Regions from separate parts of the Homo sapiens genome. Here region 1 is linked to region 2. Evidence: promoter capture Hi-C in human tissues and cell types (Jung and others, 2019). All regions are on one chromosome and are shown on one strand. Each heading gives the region's core, a stretch centred on a gene start or on the middle of the fragment in contact. The rest is flanking DNA. Distances are from core to core; before and after follow the strand shown. Region 1 holds the start of STIM1 (stromal interaction molecule 1). Region 2 has its middle 7.1 kb from the start of LINC02749.

Region 1 (4,544 bases), core at 1,490-3,989, 320 kb after region 2:
TTCTAAACTGAGCATGAGTAGGCCTAAGTGGTATAATCAGCATAGCCAGGCCTCTGAAATATATGTTGTGTGAAGAATTGTCTCCAAAAGCTCAAGTCATGGGGTGGTCCTGAGGAAGGCTAGAATGCCTTTTACTTCAGGCGAAAAACAAAAAACAAAAAAAAAAAAACCTTCCTAATAGCCAGCCAATGTCTACATTCAAAATTTCATCCCTTTAGCTTATGTCTAAAATATAGAACACCCACTCTCCAAAAAATATTCATCTTATGTCAGGCACTCATATTTTGGAGTGAAAAAAGACATATTATCAGTTATAAATAGGAATGTCACAGGGACAGGAAGAGATGATAATTAGGTCTACTTCACAGTTCAATCTACATTTGCCCACTAGTCTTTCCCTTCATAGCCCAATAAGAACCAAGCTTTCAGCCAGGTCTCAAAGGTCAAGGAGACTCTCTATGGAGAGACAGGATTAATAGGCAAAAAGGATCTATCTAGAAAGCAACAGCCAGGTATCCTACTTACACATGGGCAACCCTGGCCTCATTTGGAAACCAGACCTCTTGGAACATCTGGAACTTAAAAGGGTATTGCCCAATAAAGGGTCTACCACCAAAGCCAGCTTCTGGATCCATCCATGAAACTCCCCAGCCACCATGACCTATATTTCCTTTTCTGACTTGTATCAGCAGGTGCCCACTGAGCCATTCCCTCATTTGAACTTGCTTATGCTCAGAAACAACTCATCTATAAACTCTCCCCACACTGCAGGTCACAGCTTTGGGCAGATCACAGCCAAAGGGTGAGAGAAATGGGAAAAGAGAACTGATCTCGTAAGCCTTATGTAAAATGACTGGATTTTAATAGAGTTCCTTGATGGGTACAGTGGCTCACACCTGTAATCCCAGCACTTTGGGAGGGATCCCTGCACAACACAGAGAGACAGTGTCTGTTCAAAAAATTAAAAATAGAAAGAAAAAAAAAGTTAGCCAGGCCCAGTGGCTCTTGTGTTTAGTCCCAGCTACCGGGAGGCTGAGGCAGGAGGATCACTTGAACCCAGGAGTTTGAGGCTGTAGTGAGCTGTGATCACACTACTGCATTCCAGCTTGGACGACAGATCAAGACCCTGTCTCAAAAAAACAAAACAAAACATAAAAGTGTTCCTTTCTACTGCAAAAGTATACCAGGGCTCCTGCTGCCTGATAAGCCTTCACAACTGCATAGGAAAAACCATGACAGATCAAAAGTAGCATGGTTTCCCTAGCAAGCAGACTCAGGGAAAAAAAAAAAAAAACAAAAAAAAAAACCTGTAGCATGGAATTCCCACCCTCATCAGTCAGAAGAAACAGAATAAGTCAACAAGTGGTCCCAGGAATTATATCATGTCTATGTCAAGAAAAGGCCATTTAACACCCTAGTTGTAAATAGGATTCCATCTAAGAAACCGCCTGGATATTTCAAATGCGCACAGCAAAGAGACAAGACTACCTAAGGGAAGGGTGGGACTAGGGTTCCCACGGTTGTTGGAATAGGCACACCTGAACACCAGGCTTTCAGGCAACAGAGGTGGCCCAGCCTTAACTTTCCCTTTCCAACATAAGTGGCCCCAACCTCCCCCATGCTGCTCAGTACTAAAACCGAATAGGAGCAATGAACTTATCATCTCACCAGGCCATTCTTCCAGACAAGTAGGCCTAAGATGGGGTCTTTCCTTGCTGATCTAAAAGGTCAAGTTGCCCCAAAGGCTTCTTCTTACTGCCAACAAAAAAAATCCTGAGTGCGGGGGATGAGGAAAGTTGTTCAGGAAAGATACAGGCATTTGCCATGACTACTGACCAGAAAGAACTTCTTGAACTACTTGGAACAGGCAGTGCCATGTGTGAATCCTCCATGAACCTCACATGTACAAACCTAGATTTCAACTTGCCCACTTCGGGCCACTCAGTCCTGAGCCAAAGCCTCCAGCCCAGTCCAGCCCGCAGCAAGGCCTTACCTGCTGCAGTGGACTCCTCAGAGTTGGCCCCCGAGCTGGTTCCTGTCGCCTTCTCACTGTGACTATGGCTGAGGCTCTGGCCCTGGTGCAGGAGGAGTCCCCAGAGGAGCCACAGGGCAAGACGGACGCATACATCCATGACTCTAGGTCTCAGTCAACATGCGTCTGATGTGGACACCTCGGGATCCCAGAGGCAAAGCCAGGAGCCCGGGAGTGCAGCCGACGGTCTCCAGGCAAGATGCCCTCGCGGCTCCGCAGCTGTCCAGCCACCCGCGAGCCTGCCCCCTCCAACAGCCAAAGGTCAAGTGCTCCAAGTTTGGGTGCGGGAGGAGGGCTGGCTCCTCAGGTCCAACAGTGGGTCCGCCGGGGCTGCGGCGGCCTGAGCTCGTGCCGCTTCCGGAGACTTCGGGCAGGGTGGCTGCGGGGCTGCTGTCAGCTCCGCAGATTACTACACCCCTGCGGAAGGGGGCGGCCGGAGTCTCCGCGGGCACAGAAGTGGAGGAGGAAGAGAAGAGAAGAGAAGAGAGGCGAGAAGGGGGCACCTGACCTCGCCCTGCCGAAGAGCGGCGAGCAGCAGAAGCTGGGGAGGGCGTGCGACCCGCAGGGTCCTGAGGGCGCGGGCGTCTCCGGGATCCTGGGCCTCCTAGGCCGAGGTCAGCGCCCCCGCCCAGTCCCGTGCCCAGGCGGCTGGCGGTGCCCAGGTCCAGCAGGCGGACGCACACCGGCCAGGCCCAGGACAGCGGCTTCCAGGCGGGCGGGCGGCGCGGGGCGGGCCCGGGGCGGGCGGGGGCGTGCGTCTCCGCGCCCGCCCCGCGCCGCCCGGTCCCCAGCGAAGCCCGGGCCAGCCCCAGCGCCCAGCTGGATCCCGGAATAACCGGTGAAGACGGCTCCCCGGAATCCCCGCCCCTAGCGGGCTCTCCCGGACCCCCGGCCCGCGCTAGTCTTTGCCAGGATCCCGCGCAAAGGATCAAGTCCCAGCTTCCCTTTCCCCACCGAGAGTCTCCAGCGCCAACCGCGGGCCGTCGGGCGGGTCCCTGACCCGCAGTTACTCAGGTAACTCAGGCCTGCGGCGGCGGCGACAGCAGCTGCCCTGCCCCGATCTCCGGGCCTTGGTGCTGCTCCACTCGCCTCAGTTCTAGAGCTGTCTAAACAGAGGCCCAGGACACGACGTTAGCCTCCCAGGAGCTGCCTGAGGCGACAACAGCCTGACCCGGCTCGGCCCGGGGGCGAGCTCCCAGCCCCCAACTCCCGGCCAGTTCCCAGGCTCCGCCCTCGCGCCTCGCCTGACAACCAATCGGCTTCCGCCTCTCTGCGGCTTGGGAACCCGCGCGCTTCGTCGCCCATGCGCAGCGGCCCCTGGTGGGAAAATCAGCAAACTGCAGACAGGACTCGGCGCTCCTGGGAGGGCCTGCTCTTTTGCAGAGGGTTGCCGAGTGAAGCTAAGACCCGCCCCGGGGGAGGCCCACGAGGGCCACTGGGGCCTGCGAGTGTTTTCTGAGGAAATGATGATGCCAGAAAGCAAAATGAAATGTCCAAACCACTCTAGCTAAAATTCCCCTACACATTCCTTGAGTCTGGGCTAAAGGGTGCCATCTGCTTTCCCGACCCCGCCTCCCTTCCCCTCCAAGCTAAGTGGGATGCCCTCCCTTAGCTCTCACAGCCCTTTTTCCTACCTGCCCTCAAGCTCTCAGCCCTTTAAGGTTTTTCGGTGGGGCCTGTAAATGCTTCCTCCCTGCATCTCATTCTCCCAGCTACCTCTCTGGTGGAGGAGGTGTCAGCGACTTGAGAATGAGTGCGCCAAAGAAGACAGAGCCACGCCTGAGCCTCCTTCAACAAAGCCTGCACTTCCTGTTCTCTTCTCAAGCGTGCTGTCAGCAGATCTTGACTGAAACCTCTGTGCCCTACCCTGTCCTTGGCACCAGACGCAGGGGAAAGGATCAGGCCCAGTCCCTCCTCTGACTGACAGTGCTAAACCAGCTACCTGTTCTGAGCAAGGCCCCTGAAGACTGGGAACACGAATTTGCCCAACAGCTGCCTGGCTTAAGGGTTAGGCCGTTGATATAAAAATACATGGCTAATGTAACCTACTACCACTCTCCCGGCTCTGTTAAGCTCCTGTCACACTAGCCTTCGTTAAGTTCCTAACCACGTCAAACTCAGCCACCTCACAGCCTTTGTATCTGCTGTTGCTTCTGCATGAAACACTCTCGCCTGCTCCCAGTTCCTCATGTAGCTGGTCTCTTACTCTTCCAGATACAGCTCAATGTGTCTCCTTAGAAACTTTTACTCTGCCCACCCCTTCAAAATCAGTCTGTGGCCAAAATTGGACCATTACATCTGTCTGCCCCTCCCCCAACAGATAGTGATTGCCACTTTTCAGGTCAGAGACTGTGCCTTATTCATCTCTGTGACACTAGGACCCAGCCATAGACCCTGCACATAGTAAGTTCTCTGTAAAAGCTGGATTACATGAGTTAATTCACTTGAACACTCAGATACTAAAAACTAATACCGGAATATTGGAAAATTGACCAGAACAGTTGAAACCCTA
Region 2 (3,945 bases), core at 1,087-3,586:
TGGGAGAGGGGCTAGGGTTATACAGCTGGGTTGCTTCTGTGTCCACCAGGGGCCTGAGGCCTCCTGGCTTTCTGGGGCGCCGAACCCTGAGGGCCTCTCGTCTGCCCCTCCCACACAACACACACGCAGGAGCCGTATCATGCCTCTTGCCAGATTTCCCACTGCCTACAGCCTGAGGTCATTGGGTCTGCAGCCTAGTTTCTTAAGGCTAGGATGCCCAGCCTGAAGGCCCATCTAGCAAATAGTTTCCACCTCTCCTTCCTGTACATTAGACCCATAAAGAGGCAGGCCCTGACCAAGATCACACAGCAAGGCCATGGAGGGTGGGCTCCACGCCAAGGCCTTCAGACTGTCAGGCCAGTGGATTCTCAGTAAGGCCCCTTCTCTCTTAAAATTAAACAGCACAGCAAGTGCTTTAATTCAGTCACGCATTCATTCAACCTGATGATCCCTGCCCCCATGGACTCAGAATAGAGTGTCCCTTCCCATGTCACAGTCCTGCAGGGGTCAAGGGACTACCACCCACCTGTGCCCAGGCCAAGCATCTTACAGGAAAAAAAAGTGTAGGGAACAGAACCACGCTTTATTTCAAGTCCCAAACCTGCCACTTACTAGTACTGAGCCTTGACTAAGGACGACCTCTCTGAGCCTCAGTTTCTTCATCTGTAACATGGGCTTGATATTCGCTACCTTGCAAGGGGTTGCGAGGTTTAAACAAGATATGGCATATAACACCCCAAATGAGGGACCTGGCCAGGGCAGGAGCTGATTAAATGGGCTCTTCCTTCCCTGTAGCCCCTGGCCTGCCAGAGGTGGGGCCAACTGAAGGAGACTAGAGGAGGCTGAAGCCCTCCAGCCACAACTCATAACAGGGACCTGATGCCCAAACTTCCCAAAGTCAGACCCCAGGCTCAGGCAGATCAGGGCAGACTCTTCAGAATCAGGCAGTTGGTGCCCCTCTTCCTCAGGGCCCTGACTTTTCTCCTTTGGGGCTTAAAGAATGGATCCCCAGGTGAGTCTGCTAAGGAGGAGAAGGTGCCTGGTGCAGGGAGGCAACCTGGCTACAGGCAGGGGTCAGGGGCCAGCCTGGCTCCGCTCATCACCTCTCACTGAAAGACCTCTAATCAGGCCCCTTCCCCTAACTGAGGCAAGGCCAAGGCCCTGAAGCTTGTCTGGAGGAATTCGCCCCCACCCTGCATGGGAGATTTGAGAGCTACCCCACTGAGAAAAGGAAGCCTCCTCATCTGGGCCAGGGGCCTACTTGCCTGCCGCCTCATGGAAGGTATTTACTGTTTTGTGCCGCTAACAGAATACCTGAGACTGGGAAATGTATAAAGAAATTTATTTGGCTCACAGTTCTGGAGGCTGGGAAGTCCACAGGCATGGTGCCGGCATCTGCTCAGCATCTGGTGAGGGCCTTCTTGCTGTGTCATCCTGCAGCAGAAGTGGAGGGACAAGAGAGCATGAGAGAGGAAGGGAAAGGGGACCAAACTCATCATTGTATCAGGAATCCATTCCTGTGATAATGGCATTAATCCATTCATGAGGGCAGAGTAATCCATTCATTACATAATCACCTCTTAAAGGTCCCACCTCTCAACATTGTTTCATTGGAGATTAAGTTGCCAATACATGAACTTTGGGGGACACATGCAAACCAAACCAGAAATTTTCTTTGGCCCACTTTCCTAGAAGAGCAGCTAAGGTTGGAGAGGCCAGAGGATCCCCCTGAGGGGACAGAGACCCATTTTTAAGACTAGATACAGCAGGATAGGAGGTATTAGCCTGAGTGAGTAGGGTGGGCAAGAGGAGAGGAGACCTGGCTTGTCCTGGTCCCATGCCTGCCTCATTTGGAGAAAACAATCTGCCCCCAGTGCCAAAAGCTCCTCCAGCTCCCAGCAATCAGGGTGAACTCAGGAGATAGGAGTCAGGGGGCCAACTCCAGACCTGGTTCTGTTACCAACTGGCTATGAGATTGCTCACTCCAAAGCTCAGTTCCCTCATCTGTAAAGTGGGTTGGTACCACCTACCTCCCAAGTGTTCGAAAAATCAAGTCAATTGGGGAACATGAAAGAGCTTCCCAAACTACAATCATACAAAATTCACTAGAAACATCACAAGTTTGATGCAGGAAGGGAAAGGCCATGAGAAGCCACCAGTCCAACATCTACCTTCTATGGAAGAGGAAATAAGAGTCCCTGGCCCAAGGGCACTTGCCAGAACCTGTGTCAGATCTCAAGCTTCTTGACTCGCTTCTCCTCTCTGCTTCCTTTCGGTGTACCCAGGCTGAGGCCTTGTACACTCAGTTTCCCAAGGCTGGGTGGTTGGGGTTGGTGTACAAAAAGGAGTTACAGATTAGAAGCTCTTAGAAGTCCTGCCCAAAGTTAGAGTGGATTATGCAGCCTGCAAACCAATGGTTAGCAGAGGAAGGGGTTGACTGAGAGCATCAGCTTGCAACTCCACCCCCCACCCCCAACAGAGGGGTGACAGTACATTTCATATGGCCTGAGGAAAGGCTACCCAACCTACAGCCTCTGCAGCTGCTGGATGATCCCAGGGTCAAAACAGAAGCCATTGGCACGGATTCCAGTGCCCCCAGCAGCAGTTACTATGCATTTCACAAGCCCTGAGGACAGACTCCCCTGCCCCACAGCCACTGCCACTGCCAAAGCACAAGCAAAGTGCATGCTCCCCAGCTCCCTGCCTACTGCTGCCAAAGCACAAGCAAAGTGCATGCTCCCCAGCTCCCTGCCTACTGCTGCCAAAGCACAAGCAAAGTGCATGCTCCCCAGCTCCCTGCCTACTGCTGCCAAAGCACAAGCAAAGTGCATGCTCCCCAGCTCCCTGCCTACTGCTGCTGCCACTGAAAGCAACCCTGTGCTCCCCAGTAGCAGGGTGGCAGTGACACCTCCACCCCAACATACCACCAGGAGCCTAGGGATCACCTGCCTCTGCCTAACACAGCCAGTGCCTACACACACTACTAAGGGGCCTAAGGAGCCAGGCCTGGCTCCACTCCTCCTTCCCAGTGCCTAAGCATGTCATCTTTGGGTATGGGAATCACCCAACCCAGTTCATCACCTTTGGCACCCAAACACTTTCCCAGGGCCTGAGATCAGGCCCACCCAACCTGCCTCTACCACCACAGCTGACACCCACACATACGTACGCACTATGTGCCTAGGGACTGGCCTCCCAAGCCCAATGCAGCCACCAGAAATTATTTAATAAAATCATGTATCAATAATAACCTTGAATACAAACAGATTAAACTTTCCAAATAAAAGACAAAGACTGGCTAAATGAATTAAAAAACATGACCCAACTATATGCTTCCTAAAAGAAACTCACCTTATGTATAAAGACACATATAGATTTAAACTAAAGGGATGAAAAAAGTCCATGCAAATGAAAACCAAAGGCAAGCAGGAATAGCTGTACATATAAGAGATAAGACAGACTTTAAGTCAAAAACAATAAAAAGAGATAAAGACAATCATTATATAATGATAAAGGGATCAATTTGGCAAAAGAATATAACAATTCTAAACATATATGCACCCAACATCAGAGCACCCAGATATATAAAGCAAATATTATTAGATGTAAAGAAAGAAGTAGACTCCAGTACAATAAGAGTTGTGAACTTCAACACCCCACTCTCAGCATTAAACAGATTATCTAGACCAAGCTTGTTCAACCTATGGCCTGCAGGCCACATGCAGCCCAGGATGGCTTTGAATGCAGCTCAACACAAATTCATAAACTTTCTTAAAACATAATGAGAGCTTTTGCAATTTATTTTAAGCTCATCAGCTATTCGTTAGTGTTACTGTATTTTATGTGTGGCTCAAGACAATTCTTTTTCCAATGTGCCTTAGGGAAGCCAAGAAATTGGACACCCCTGATCTAGACAGAAAATTAACAAAGAAACATTGAATTAAA

Evidence for each region. Contacts are between HindIII fragments. The study calls those that stand out against the background at their distance.
Region 1: a contact is called between the fragment with the promoter of STIM1 here and a fragment that was not itself captured in region 2, in 1 of the 25 tissues and cell types used here (liver).

Annotation. Positions count from the first base shown.
Region 1 is chr11:3,853,859-3,858,402 of GRCh38, reverse strand. It overlaps STIM1 (stromal interaction molecule 1), which reads right to left and starts at 2,739. Exons shown (of 13, transcript NM_001382567.1): 1 at 1,994-2,739. The coding sequence starts at 2,132. It overlaps STIM1-AS1 (STIM1 antisense RNA 1), which reads left to right and starts at 2,825. Exons shown (of 2, transcript NR_183662.1): 1 at 2,825-3,046; 2 at 3,745-4,080. MIR4687 (microRNA 4687) reads right to left here and starts at 2,341; the gene lies at 2,262-2,341. RefSeq lists enhancers at 1,824-1,873, 1,884-1,963, 2,114-2,323, 2,539-3,484, 3,694-3,763 and silencers at 2,544-2,703, 2,764-2,823, 3,304-3,353. The HindIII fragment of the contact is 10,936 bases long and covers 1-4,544 here.
Region 2 is chr11:4,178,121-4,182,065 of GRCh38, reverse strand. No RefSeq gene overlaps it. Among named protein-coding and RNA genes, the nearest start is that of LINC02749, 7.1 kb to the left of the region's middle. RefSeq lists enhancers at 2,272-2,798, 2,799-3,326. The HindIII fragment of the contact is 3,553 bases long and covers 560-3,945 here.